Regions from separate parts of the Homo sapiens genome. Here all the other regions are linked to region 2. Evidence: promoter capture Hi-C in 16 types of primary human blood cells and fetal thymus (Javierre and others, 2016). All regions are on one chromosome and are shown on one strand. Each heading gives the region's core, a stretch centred on a gene start or on the middle of the fragment in contact. The rest is flanking DNA. Distances are from core to core; before and after follow the strand shown. Region 1 overlaps LOC105373024 (a long non-coding RNA gene). Region 2 holds the start of MFNG (MFNG O-fucosylpeptide 3-beta-N-acetylglucosaminyltransferase). Region 3 has its middle 1.8 kb from the start of CYTH4.

The links. The method cuts DNA at HindIII sites, captures the fragments that hold promoters and counts their contacts. A CHiCAGO score of 5 or more calls a contact.
Region 1: a fragment that was not itself captured here is called in contact with the fragment with the promoter of MFNG in region 2 in 6 of 17 cell types (endothelial precursors, non-activated CD4 T cells, fetal thymus and 3 more); the score reaches 9.3 in endothelial precursors.
Region 3: a contact is called between a fragment that was not itself captured here and the fragment with the promoter of MFNG in region 2, in 7 of 17 cell types (non-activated CD4 T cells, naive CD4 T cells, fetal thymus and 4 more). The highest score is 9.2, in non-activated CD4 T cells.

Annotation. Positions count from the first base shown.
Region 1 is chr22:37,320,145-37,323,999 of GRCh38, reverse strand. The region is part of intron 1 of LOC105373024 (a long non-coding RNA gene); the gene reads left to right. Among named protein-coding and RNA genes, the nearest start is that of CYTH4, 40 kb to the right of the region's middle. The HindIII fragment of the contact is 2,808 bases long and covers 1-2,780 here.
Region 2 is chr22:37,484,202-37,487,795 of GRCh38, reverse strand. It overlaps MFNG (MFNG O-fucosylpeptide 3-beta-N-acetylglucosaminyltransferase), which reads left to right and starts at 1,412. Exons shown (of 8, transcript NM_002405.4): 1 at 1,412-1,873. The coding sequence starts at 1,619. RefSeq lists enhancers at 10-519, 520-1,031, 1,032-1,541, 2,018-2,067, 2,468-2,527 and 2 more and a silencer at 1,318-1,447. The HindIII fragment of the contact is 3,313 bases long and covers 1,031-3,594 here.
Region 3 is chr22:37,278,843-37,282,491 of GRCh38, reverse strand. No RefSeq gene overlaps it. Among named protein-coding and RNA genes, the nearest start is that of CYTH4, 1.8 kb to the left of the region's middle. RefSeq lists an enhancer at 176-225. The HindIII fragment of the contact is 686 bases long and covers 908-1,593 here.

The DNA of each region.
Region 1 (3,855 bases), core at 127-2,626, 160 kb after region 2:
AAAGTCAGATGGATTCGGCCACTTTGTAAGCCAGAAAAATGGCCCCAGCAGACAGGTGAGCAACAGCTTTGGAAAAATCTCTAGCAATCAAGAACGGCCATGGGGGTTTATCTTTGCTCTGTAATGATCCCAGGCAGACGGAGAGGAAAGGCAGAGAAACCTGCAGGTGAATGGGCAAAGGGCAGGAGCGATGATTCACACTAGAAAGGAAACACAAATGCTTAACCCTCACAGGGAGAAAGTCCATTCCCACTCAGATATGAAAGGAATACAAATGTTAATCAATGCAGTTCCATTCAAACTCACAAATATTTTAAAACATAAAGTTATTTAATTTACCGCTGAATAACTGTAACTATTTTTAACTGAACTCATGGTTACCCTGGTAGTCCATCCTCCCAACTGCTCCAATTCACAGATAGGAACCTAGGCTAAGAGAGGCTAATTGCATAATTTGCTCCAGGTTAGACCTCTGGTGAGTAGCTGAGCAGGGTCACCTGTTCGGTGGCAAAGTGGTGGCATCTGGCCGGGCGCGGTGGCTCATGCCTGTAATCCCAGCACTTTGGGAGGCTGAGGCAGGTGGATGACCTGAGGTCGGGAGTTCAAGACCAGCCTGACCTATATGGAGAAACCCGGTCTCTACTAAAAATACAAACTTAGCCAGGTGTGGTGGCACACGCCTGTAATCCCAGCTATTCAGGAGGCTGAGGCAGGAGAATCGCTTGAACCCGGGAGCTGGAGTTTGCAGTGAGCCGAGATTGCACCACTGCACTCCAGTCTGGGCAACAGAGCGAGACTCCATCAAAACAAACAAACAAACAAACAACAAAAAAACCCACAAACAAACCACACACACAAAAACGCAAAGGTTAGGCTTCATCCCAGCCCCCGTGGATCAGAAACTCTGGCGCTAGGGACCAGCAATCTGTTTTAAGGAGCTCTCCAGGTGAGCTGGAGGCTACAATTAGAGAATGACTGCTCTGGGCTCCAGGAGAAGGTAAGGAAAGCAGGTACGTGCTTTCGCTGCAGAAGGCAAATTGTATTGTTTCAACCTTTTTGAATTACCTATGGATAACAGGTATTGTGAGCCTGTAAACGGCCACCAATGGCACCTCTGAGAAGCCACTGAGAAGTAGACATGGTTTTATCCATGGAGGTATTTAAGACAATGTATTTATAAACATGGAATACTGGAAACAGTCTGAGTCTCCAGCAATAGGGGACTGGGGAGAGAAACCTTGGTTCATCTAAAAGATGGCTGCTGTGCAGTTTTGAAAAGTGAGTGTGTAAAGACCGCACAACGTGGTACAATAGGAGCAGACAAGTCCTCCTGGGTTGCCCAGGACTTTCCCAATTTTAGCACAAGAAGGCCGGCATTTTGGAAAACTCCTTGGTCCTGAGAAAATGGGGACAATTGGTCACCCTAGCTATAATCGGCACTAGTGCCACACCCCAAGTATTACTGTCCTCCCATGTTGCATGGCCGGTGGTAGGATGGTATTTCATCTGGCCTTGCAGTGAGGTAGCTATGTGACATGTTTTGGCCAATGCAATGTGAGCGGAAGTGGCATGTCACATCCAGACAGCGCTCCTGGCAATTCATGCCAGGATGGCACCTCCTCAGCCTAGGTCCCTGAGTGACTATGATAAGCAGAGACTCCATGCCGATCCCTACCCTGCAATCCCAGGGCATAGGGTGTGAGCAAGACATAACCTCTTGTGGTGTGTGAAGCCACTGAGATTTGGGGATATTTGTTGCCACAGTGTAACCTAACCTGTCCTGGCTGGTATACACGTGGACATCCGGATTTCATAGTTTTAAGGCTTAAGTGTTAGGCCGGGCATGGTGCCTCACACCTGCAATCTCAGTACTTTGGGAAGGCCGAGGCGTGCAGATCACTTGAGGTCAGGAGTTCGAGACCAGCCTGGGCAACATGGTGAAACCCCGCCTCTACTAAAAATACAAAAATTAGCCGGGTGTGGTGGTGCATGCCTGTAATCCCAGCTACTCGGGAGGCTGAGGCAGGAGAATCGCTTGAACCTGGGAGGAGGAGGTTGCAGTGAGCTGAGATTGTGCCACTGCACTCTAGCCTCAGGGACAGAGCGAGAATCTGTCTCCAGAAAAAAAAAAAAAATTGGCTTAAGGTTACAAAACTGCATTTGCAGTATCATTGCAGAGACATAACAGGTGTGTTGGAAATATTCTGAAATGTTTACAAAATTATCAGGTAGAGGAATTCTTGGTCTAGGTTTTTTTTTAACTTTTAGGATTGGGATACATGTGCAGGTTTGTTATATAGATAAACTGCCATGTGAGTTTGGTATACGGATAATTTTGTCACCCAGGTAATAAGCATAATACCCACCAGGTATTTTTTTCTAATCCTCTCCGTCCTCCCACTGTCCACCCTCCAGAAGGCCCCAGTGTCTGTTGTCCCTCTCCTAGTATTCATGTGTCCTCATTATTTAGCTTCCACTTATACGTGAGAACATGCGGTATTTGGTTTTCTGCTCCTGTCTATGTTCGTTTGCTTAGGATAATGGCCTCCAGCTCTAGCCGTGTTGCAACAGAGGACATGATCTCATTTGTTTTTTGGTCTAAGTTTTTCTTCCTCTTCATTGCGCTTTCCAATTTTCTGCAATGAGCATGTTTTATTAATTTTTAAATGGGGGACATTTTCTGAAAAAATCATTTCTTTGGATCAAAGGTTGGTCCCCTCTGGGCTCTTATTTATGAACTGAAAATCCCTTGGGGGAGGGAGAAAGAGAAGAGTTAAGCTTTAGCCTCAAAGGATCACAGGGACTGGAAAGGTCACAGAATTAATCCTGCCCTTCTGCTGGAGCCTTCTAGCTGGTGGCTCCTCCTGGCCTTAGCAATTGGATCAGATGCCTGTTCCTGGTCGTGTGACTCTGGGCAAGTCACAAGCTCTCTGAGCCTCCACGTCCTCATCTGTTAAATGGGAATAATCCTGTTTACCTTGTGGGCTCCTGGGAGGATCAGATGAGATGAAGTATGTTCTACAAATGCCGGCGCCTTCTGCCTCGGTCTTCTTCATGGAGCCTCCGTGCTGGGTGACTTAGGGCGTGTGCCTGAATGTCTGTGACCTTTGATTTCATCATGGAAGAACAGGCAGGGTGCTTTTTTAGGCCAGGGCATTTCTGGATGGGGCTGGAGGCCCCCGTACAGAAGCTGAGAGGGATGGAAAAGGAGAGGGCTTGTAGGCCTTGGTGTTCAGCAGCCGAACAAAAACTTTGAGCCTGGCAACCCCAGACCACGAAGCCAGCCCACCAAAAGCCAAATGGTGAAACCTCTGGAGTCTTAAAGTAGCCCCGGGGACAGGGGTGGTCAGGGAGGGCTTCCTGCAGGAGGAGAGCTGGCAGGATGGCATGGACAGCCCCCATTGCCTTCCATGGTTCTGTCCTGTTCAGAGTCCTTGAACTCAGCCCTCTCGAGGGAGACTCCATCAAGAATATAACAGTGACAGCTAATATCTGCTGACGGCGTGCAGTAGACCAGGTTTACCCAATCCAGTGTCAGTCCACACGGTGCCACTTTGGGGTAGGACTTGGGGAGACTCACCGTGGAGAAAAGTTCGCTGGGTGAATTGGTGGCTGAACCCCATCTGCTCCGGAGGAAACAGCTGTCCTTTCCTTCTCCAGGATAAAGCAGCCACGGGGCACAACTCTTCCAGTCCACAGGGCCACCCAGAATGACCCCAGTTCCTTGCTGCACCTTGTGGATATGTCTGATCTCTACCGTGACCCTATGTCTTGGGGTGCCTGGAGCAGTCCTGGTTTCTGCCTGTTGTCCTGGCGTCCCCTGGAATCCAGATTCCAGCACTCATAGGAAGGGCT
Region 2 (3,594 bases), core at 163-2,662:
TTTTCCCTTCCTCTCCCCCAGCTGTCCTCATGCAGGGTTGAGCCCGGCAGGGCCACTTCCCTTTGCCAGCCACCTGGTACTTTGTTGTGTTGAATTAACATTGATTGAGTTCTTGTCTGCCGGTCACTGTTCTAGGCACTGGGGATTAGGGACTCAGTGATCAAAAAATAAATCCTGCCCTGATATTCTCATGAGGAGGACAGAAACTTAGTTAAACATACAGAATGTTGGAAGATGAAAAGTGTGATGAAGAAAACAGTGAAGTGGCTTGAGAGGGACAGGCCTGGGGGGCTGGGAAGGAGGCGGCGAGGGGTTGCAATGTTAATAACGTGGTCAGGGAAGGCCTCACAGAGACGGTGACCTTTGTGTAAAGACCAGAAGGGAGTGGGGGAGTGAGACGTGCAGGTCTCTAGGGAGGGGCCCAGGTGGGAACAGCAAGTGCCAAGGTCCTGTGGCGGCCAGGTGCCTGGGCCAGCGAGGGTCCCAGGTTCTGGAGTGGAGCAGGGTGAGTAGCAGGAGATGGGGTGGGAGTAACTTGGGAGCCAGCTCACGCAGGGCCTTGTGGGCTGCTGTGTGCGTTTTGGCTTTTGTTCTGAAGAAAATGGGAGCCAGTGCAGGCTCTGAGTGGAGGAGGGAGGAGGTGTGAGTGAGCTTGTGCGAAACAAGATGGAGGTGGTGGCTGGAGAAGGCCCTCTGTCTGTCCACTGGTCAGGTGCTGGGAGAGAGGCAGCTCCAGAGACTGCGGAGTGAGGTCGGGTATGGGCTGGGGCACAGCTGGACAGGTGCCCTCAGGGGACCTCCTGTGAACTAGATGAGGAACAGAGACCTGGGTTCTGCCAGCTCTGCGGCTGAGTTGCTGGATCGTTTTTGCTCATTCTGTGCCTTTGTGCCTTATGTCTTCAGCTATAAACTGGGAACGACAGTCCCAGTGCTGTTGTGAAGACCTCAGGAACTGAGCGAACAACTGTGGGAGCCCCAGAGGTTAAGAGGTTATCACGGAAGGCTTCCTGGAGGAGGGAACCCTTAAGCTTTGAAGTCCAGATAGAACTCAGCCTAGTGGAGGGAATGTGGGTGAGGCTGGTGGAATATGGGAGAGCATCCCGGAGGAAACCTGTGAGCAAAAGCTGGGGGCTGGGTGAAGCAGGACACCAAAGTAATGGGTGTTGAATGGGCCGAGCTGACAGCTCTCTGGGGGAGTGGACGGTGCTGGAGGACACTCCCTTCCACCGGGCACGGAGGGTTTGTTGTGACTTCCTCCCACCGCAGCAGCTGGCAGAGCCGGGGCTGCCCTTTCTGCTGGTGCCTCCTTTCAGCCGCCTCTGTCTGGGGTTCCCTTCGTCTGGCCCCGCCCCTCGGGCTAAGCGGGGCGGGGCCAGGCGGTCCCGGAGGCTGCGGCAGGCCGGACAGCGGGAGCAGGTGGAGGACTGGCGGCGGTCGAGATCGTGCTGCCATGGCTCAGCCTCTGGGTCCAGAGCCTCAGCTCCTACCTCTTCCCTCCTTGCCAGCCCCTGATGCCTGCCAGACTTTTGCCTCTGCTGGAGCCCCTGCCTGACCAGCTTCCCCTCCCTGTCTGGTTGGGATTTGGGGGCTGAGCTGTCTGGGGTCCCAGGGCCAACCAATGCAGTGCCGGCTCCCGCGGGGCCTGGCTGGAGCCCTCCTCACCCTCCTGTGCATGGGGCTCCTGTGTCTGCGGTACCACTTGAACCTGTCCCCGCAGCGGGTACAAGGGACCCCCGAGCTGAGCCAGCCGAACCCGGGGCCCCCTAAGCTACAGCTACACGATGTCTTCATTGCAGTGAAGACGACCCGGGCTTTCCACCGCTTGCGCCTGGAGCTGCTGCTTGACACGTGGGTTTCCAGGACCAGGGAACAGGTGACAAGTGGGTGACATTGGGCCCTGGGGGTGGCCCCTGGCCTAAGGGGTTCTCAGAGGCCTTTCTACTGGGCTGGGGTCCCTGACTGCCTCATGGGAGAAGCTGCTCAATACCTGCCTAATCAGGGATCCTCTTCCTCTCTCCTTCTTCCGGGCTTTAGGGGCTGCCTGCGGCCCTGCCCGTGCCCTGTACTGGTCCTGACTCCAGGTGCACCCAGGTCCTACCGCTCCACCACTTTTGGGGGCCAGGCTGGGCCCCTGCTCCAGGCTCCCGGGTCCCTCCTGGGGGTTCTTCTATTCCTAGCCGCTCCCGTGGGGGCTTCGCTCCTAGCCACCCAGGCCCAGCCTGGCATCAGGGGTAATGGTGGGTGTTGGGCAGCTGGGGTGGAGGCCTCCAAGAGGTCCTGACCCAGACCCGTGCCCAGGCCAGGCTGTCCCACCCAGGCCCTAGGTGCTGTCCTGCCCGGGCTCTGAGGGTGGAGGACGGGAGGAGAATGGTGGGGTCTGTTCTTGGGGGAGGCATCCCTTCGGCCTTCCCGATAGCCCCTGCCGCTGTGTCTCTGCTGCCCCGGGTGTGCCGAGGCCGCCATGTCTGGCCTCCTGTGTTGGCTTCCTGCGGACTGCTTCCGAGGGAGGGAAGGAGAGCGCATGCCACGAGGGTGGCGGCTGAGGCAGTGGTGGGCCGGAGGTTGGGGAGGCCTGCCTGGCACGTGGGATTGTGTGTGTGTGTGTGTGTGTGCTCACACGCACGGAGCTGGAGTGTGCTAGATGTGTGTGACAAGAGGCATGTCTGTCACATGGCTGTGCGGCTCCGGCGAGCCAAGTCCCTTCCAGCCCTTTCCCTCCTCGCATCCAGTATCTTCCTTAAGCAAAGTTAGTGATGTCGGTGTTAGGGACCGTTGATGGGGGAGGTGGAGAATGGGTACACACACACACACACACACACACACATCGGTCCCCTCTTTGGCGGCTGGCTCAGTGGGAGGAAGTGACTGAGTCTTTGGAGATAGTCGAGACCTCCTGGAAGACCAAAAGGAGGGGGAGAGGATGGCTGGCAGAGGCCAGGCCCTCCTGGGGAGGGGCACCCTGCCCTGATTTCTGCCCTCGTACTTGGGATTAACTCTTCCCCAGCTGGCCCCCAGCACCTCAGCTCTTCTCTGGGCCCCACACGGCTTCTCATCTTGGGGAGATCCTGGTTCTTCCTGCGGAAGCAGCCAAGGCGGGCCCTCCCGCAGGCCTTCCTGTTTATGCGTCTGTGTACCCGGGAGCGTGGCCTCACGTGGCCCACGGCCCTTTCCTGTCTTATCTCCATCACCGCGGTGGTGCCCTTGCCCCGGATGAGGAAACTGAGGCCAGAGAGAGGAAGTGCTGGCTGGCGTGGTGTCACGCAGAAGGCCTGAGGGGACAGAGCCCAGTGGGACCTAGAACCTTGCTCCTGGTTGGGTGCTTTTCTCCCCTGCTGAGACTTGGGAACCCTGTGAGGACTGGGTCACTGGGCTACAGGAGTCGCTACCCCACGTCTCTCACCCTTTGGCTCACTTCTCTCTGTGACCTCAGCCAAGGCCCTCCCCTTTCGGCCCGCAGTTTCCCCATCTGCACGGGGCAGGAGTGTCTGGACCGGGCCTGAGCTGGTTAACTGCAGCGCTGGGCGCCCGCCTGGCTGGTTAAGGGCGGTCGGGTGGCAGGTGGGCCTTGCGGCAGGGGCCGGGACTCGTGTGCCG
Region 3 (3,649 bases), core at 1-2,500, 210 kb after region 2:
GATGCGTCACCTTGACTGTAACAGGCTCCTTCCTGCTTGCCCCGCCCAGCCCTGTGTGGGGAGGAAGTCAGTCCTGGCCCACGGGGGTCTCGTGTGCAGGCTTTTGACAAAACAGCACTTCCTAAAAACTGGCAGAGTTTTGAGCAGCAGGGACTTTTGCCAGGGAGGGACAGAGGTGGAAACAAACAAACAAACAAACAAACAAACAGATGAAGTGAGGGGAGGGCCAGATAAAAAAGAGAAAGACAGTGAGACAGAAAGAAACACACAGACACATATGCACATACACACGTACACATGCACAGACACCGAGGGCGATGTTCACTGAGGACGAACATTTTCCAGGGGACCATGGGCATTCACGTGGCAGCCTCCTCACATATATGCCATAGGAGCGCCCAACTTGGACAGTCCTAGCAGGGCCCCCTGTGTTCCACCCCACAAGCTCTCTTCCAACTCCCACTTGAGAAGAGACAAATGAATTCACTGCTAGGAAGGGCTTTGCTTCCCTTCAAAGAAATATCTGGCTTTTTCTTGTCTAGTGAACAATCGGGTAATATGTTCCACTTTCCTTCTCCCCCAGGCTGCTGGGAAACTCATCGTCAAATCCAAAGCTCATCGACAGCTATTCTATGATGTCATGTGAACTTTGGGGCCTGACTCAGCTGTTTGACTCTCAGCTAGGGCTAGTCAGCCTCGCTTTGCTTATCTCTGAAAGGGGAATAACACTAACTCGGGGATATGGAAACCATGGAGTGAGAGGATGTGTCGGAGATGCTTGGGACATAGTAGGTGCTCAATAAACACTTTCTCCTTTGATTTTAATTATCTTCTTTGGTTAAAATGTATCATGTTATTCCTTGTGCCTTTTCTGGCAGGTTGGTTCAAATCCTTTCTGCAAAAAGCTTTGCTGTAAAGAAACAGGTATAAATTAAATGTGAATTCCCTATAACTTCAGGACACATGCAGAGTTATTCATCTGTTTCCCCATTACTCTCCAGGCCCCATGAGGGCAAGGTTACCTTTTGTGTTCTGGTGTGTGGTAAAATGCTGGGGACATAGAGGGTGTGCAAGTGTGGAATGAATGAACAAATGAATGAATGAATGAATGAATGAAGGGAACATGGAAGAGATCACGGCCGATGTGAAAGCTAGCTACAAGTTCACCTCCTTTTCACTATGCCGCCGCTTCTGCTGTCAAGGGGCGAAGTCCATTTCTCCTTCCTTGGAAGCTGAGCTGGCCTTGGGCATCTCTTTGACCAATAGCACGTGGCAGAAATGATGTGCCGTGATGTTCGAGGCTGAGCTTTAAAAGGCCTTGCAGCTCCTGCTCTTGCTCTCAGCCCCCTGCCTGGCTACCATGAGAACAAGCCTGGGCTAGCCTGTTGGAAGACGGAGGACCACAAGGAGATAGGCTGGGCTGTCTTGGCTGTCCCCTGGTTGCTGCCTCATCAGTGAGGCCAGGGGACACCAGAAGAAGAACCATCAAGCGGAGTCCCACCCAAACTGCTGACCCATAGCACTGTGGGAAATAATACATTTTTGTGGTTTAAGCCACCAACTTCTGGGATGCTTTGTTATGCAGCCAAAGCTTGCTGATACAGAAGAAATCCAATGCTGTCATTTCCTCGGAGAGAAAACTGAGGCTTATTTCTGGGAAACACTTGACCAAGTTGGAACTTGAGTGAGTGCCAATTCAGGCCCAGAAGCCAGGCCTACTAAGTCCCCGTCTAGTGTGCTCAGGATTTTTGAACCCCGCTGCTTCTCCCCTGCCCTGCCTCCACCTGGGTTCTTGTATAACTCATGGTTCTTTTCTGGAAAACTTGTTACAATTATTTCCATGGTAAACTAGATTTTTCTCAACTGCTTTGGGCCTGAGGCACCACAAACCATGCCCTTGGCCATTTTAAAACTAGAAATGTGGGCTGGGCATAGTGGCTCATGCCTGTAATCCCAGCACTTTGGGAGGCCGAGGCGGGTGGATCACAAGGTCAGGAGATCAAGACCATCCTGGCCAACGTGGTGAAACCCCGTCTATACTAAAAATACAAAAATTAGCTGGGCATGGTGGCGGGTGCCTATAATGCCAGCTACTTGGGAGGCTGAAGCGGGAGAATCACTTGAACCAGAGAGTCGGAGGTTGCAGTGAGCTGAGATCGCGCCACTGCACTCCAGCCTGGCAACAGAGTGAGACTCCGTCTCCAAAAACAAAACAAAAGAAAAAACAAAACAAACAAAATAACCCCTAGAAATATGGAGAAAGGTATATATAATTCCCTGTGCAGAAAGACTTCACACTGCAGGCCGGAGACTGCTATCTTTAGAAAGTCATGCTTGCAAAGTTGACCCTTGGCTGGCACCTGGGAGCTTGGATTTGGGGAGGGCTCCCACCACCCTAACTGATGAGAGTGGCTTACTGGGCCTAACCTATTTGCCTAGCGTCCCTGGCAGCATCCCATCTCACAGGTGCTTTCACGACTTGTTGCTGGAGGAATTGAGCGTGTCCCGTGTGACTCTTTTGGGAGCAGACTCTTGGAAGCTGCCCCTGGTTTCCTCTGGACTTCGCCACGGCGCCTTTGCGGATTCTGCTTTGAGTCCTTTCACTGCCATAGATCATAGCCGTAAGTATGACCATGAGCTGAGTCCTGGGAGTCCACCTAGTAAACCACTGAACCTGGGATGGCCTTGGGGAAGGCTGCCTGATCTTGCGGCTGATCCAGTAAATGTGTCTTGACCAGGCCACGGTTTGGCATCTGACACTTCCCTTTTGTCTGATGGATGGTCACGGTTGTGTGGTTCAGCTATTGTTACTGTCTTATTCTCTAAGACATACCTCAAATACCACCTCCTCTGTGAGGTCCGTTGTGATGACACCTCCCCTCCCTCTTTCCCACAACGCTGGTCATGTTTAACGGCTTATATGCAGACAGCCTGGGAGGGAGGGACTCTTTCACTGTGAGCAGCAAAGAGTTTAGCAGAACTGACTTCATCATTTTCTCCGTCACTCCTTGTCCAGGTTTGGCTGCAAGATTTGCTGGGAACCAATAGCACAGGCAATGAGGAGAGCAGGAAGCTGGACCCAGGGGAGTCACAGAGAACTGGATTTGAATCCTGACTCAGCTCTTGTGAGCTGTGTGATCTTCTTCCTTCCCCTCCGAGCCTCATTTTTAATCATTTAAAATCATCTACAAAATGGAGACAGTTCAGGTTAGGTTTGCCTACATGAAACAGAAAACCCAAATAATAATAATGGTTTAAAGAAACTAGAGGTTTATTGATCTCTTACAAGAAAGAAACCTGAAGTGGGCAACACATGGCTGCCCTGTAGCAGCCTGGGCATGGATCCAGGATCCTTCTAACTTTCGGCTGCTGTCCTCAAATTCTCTTCATGGTCCAAAGTGGCTGCTTGATCTCCAGCTATCATGTCTAAATTCCAGGTAGGAGGAAGGATGAAAACGGGAAGGAATCCCCTTAAAACTTTCTGGCCTGAGATCAGTCCTTCTGCGCTACATCAGGCTCTGGTTCCCACCTGTGTACCAGGCAGGGGATCCGCAGTTGGTTCTGGGACAACAAATGAGAGTCTCCAAACACGAGATCTGGGAGGTCCTAAAAAAACCATCACTGCTATTTCTGGAGTGCCTGCTATGGA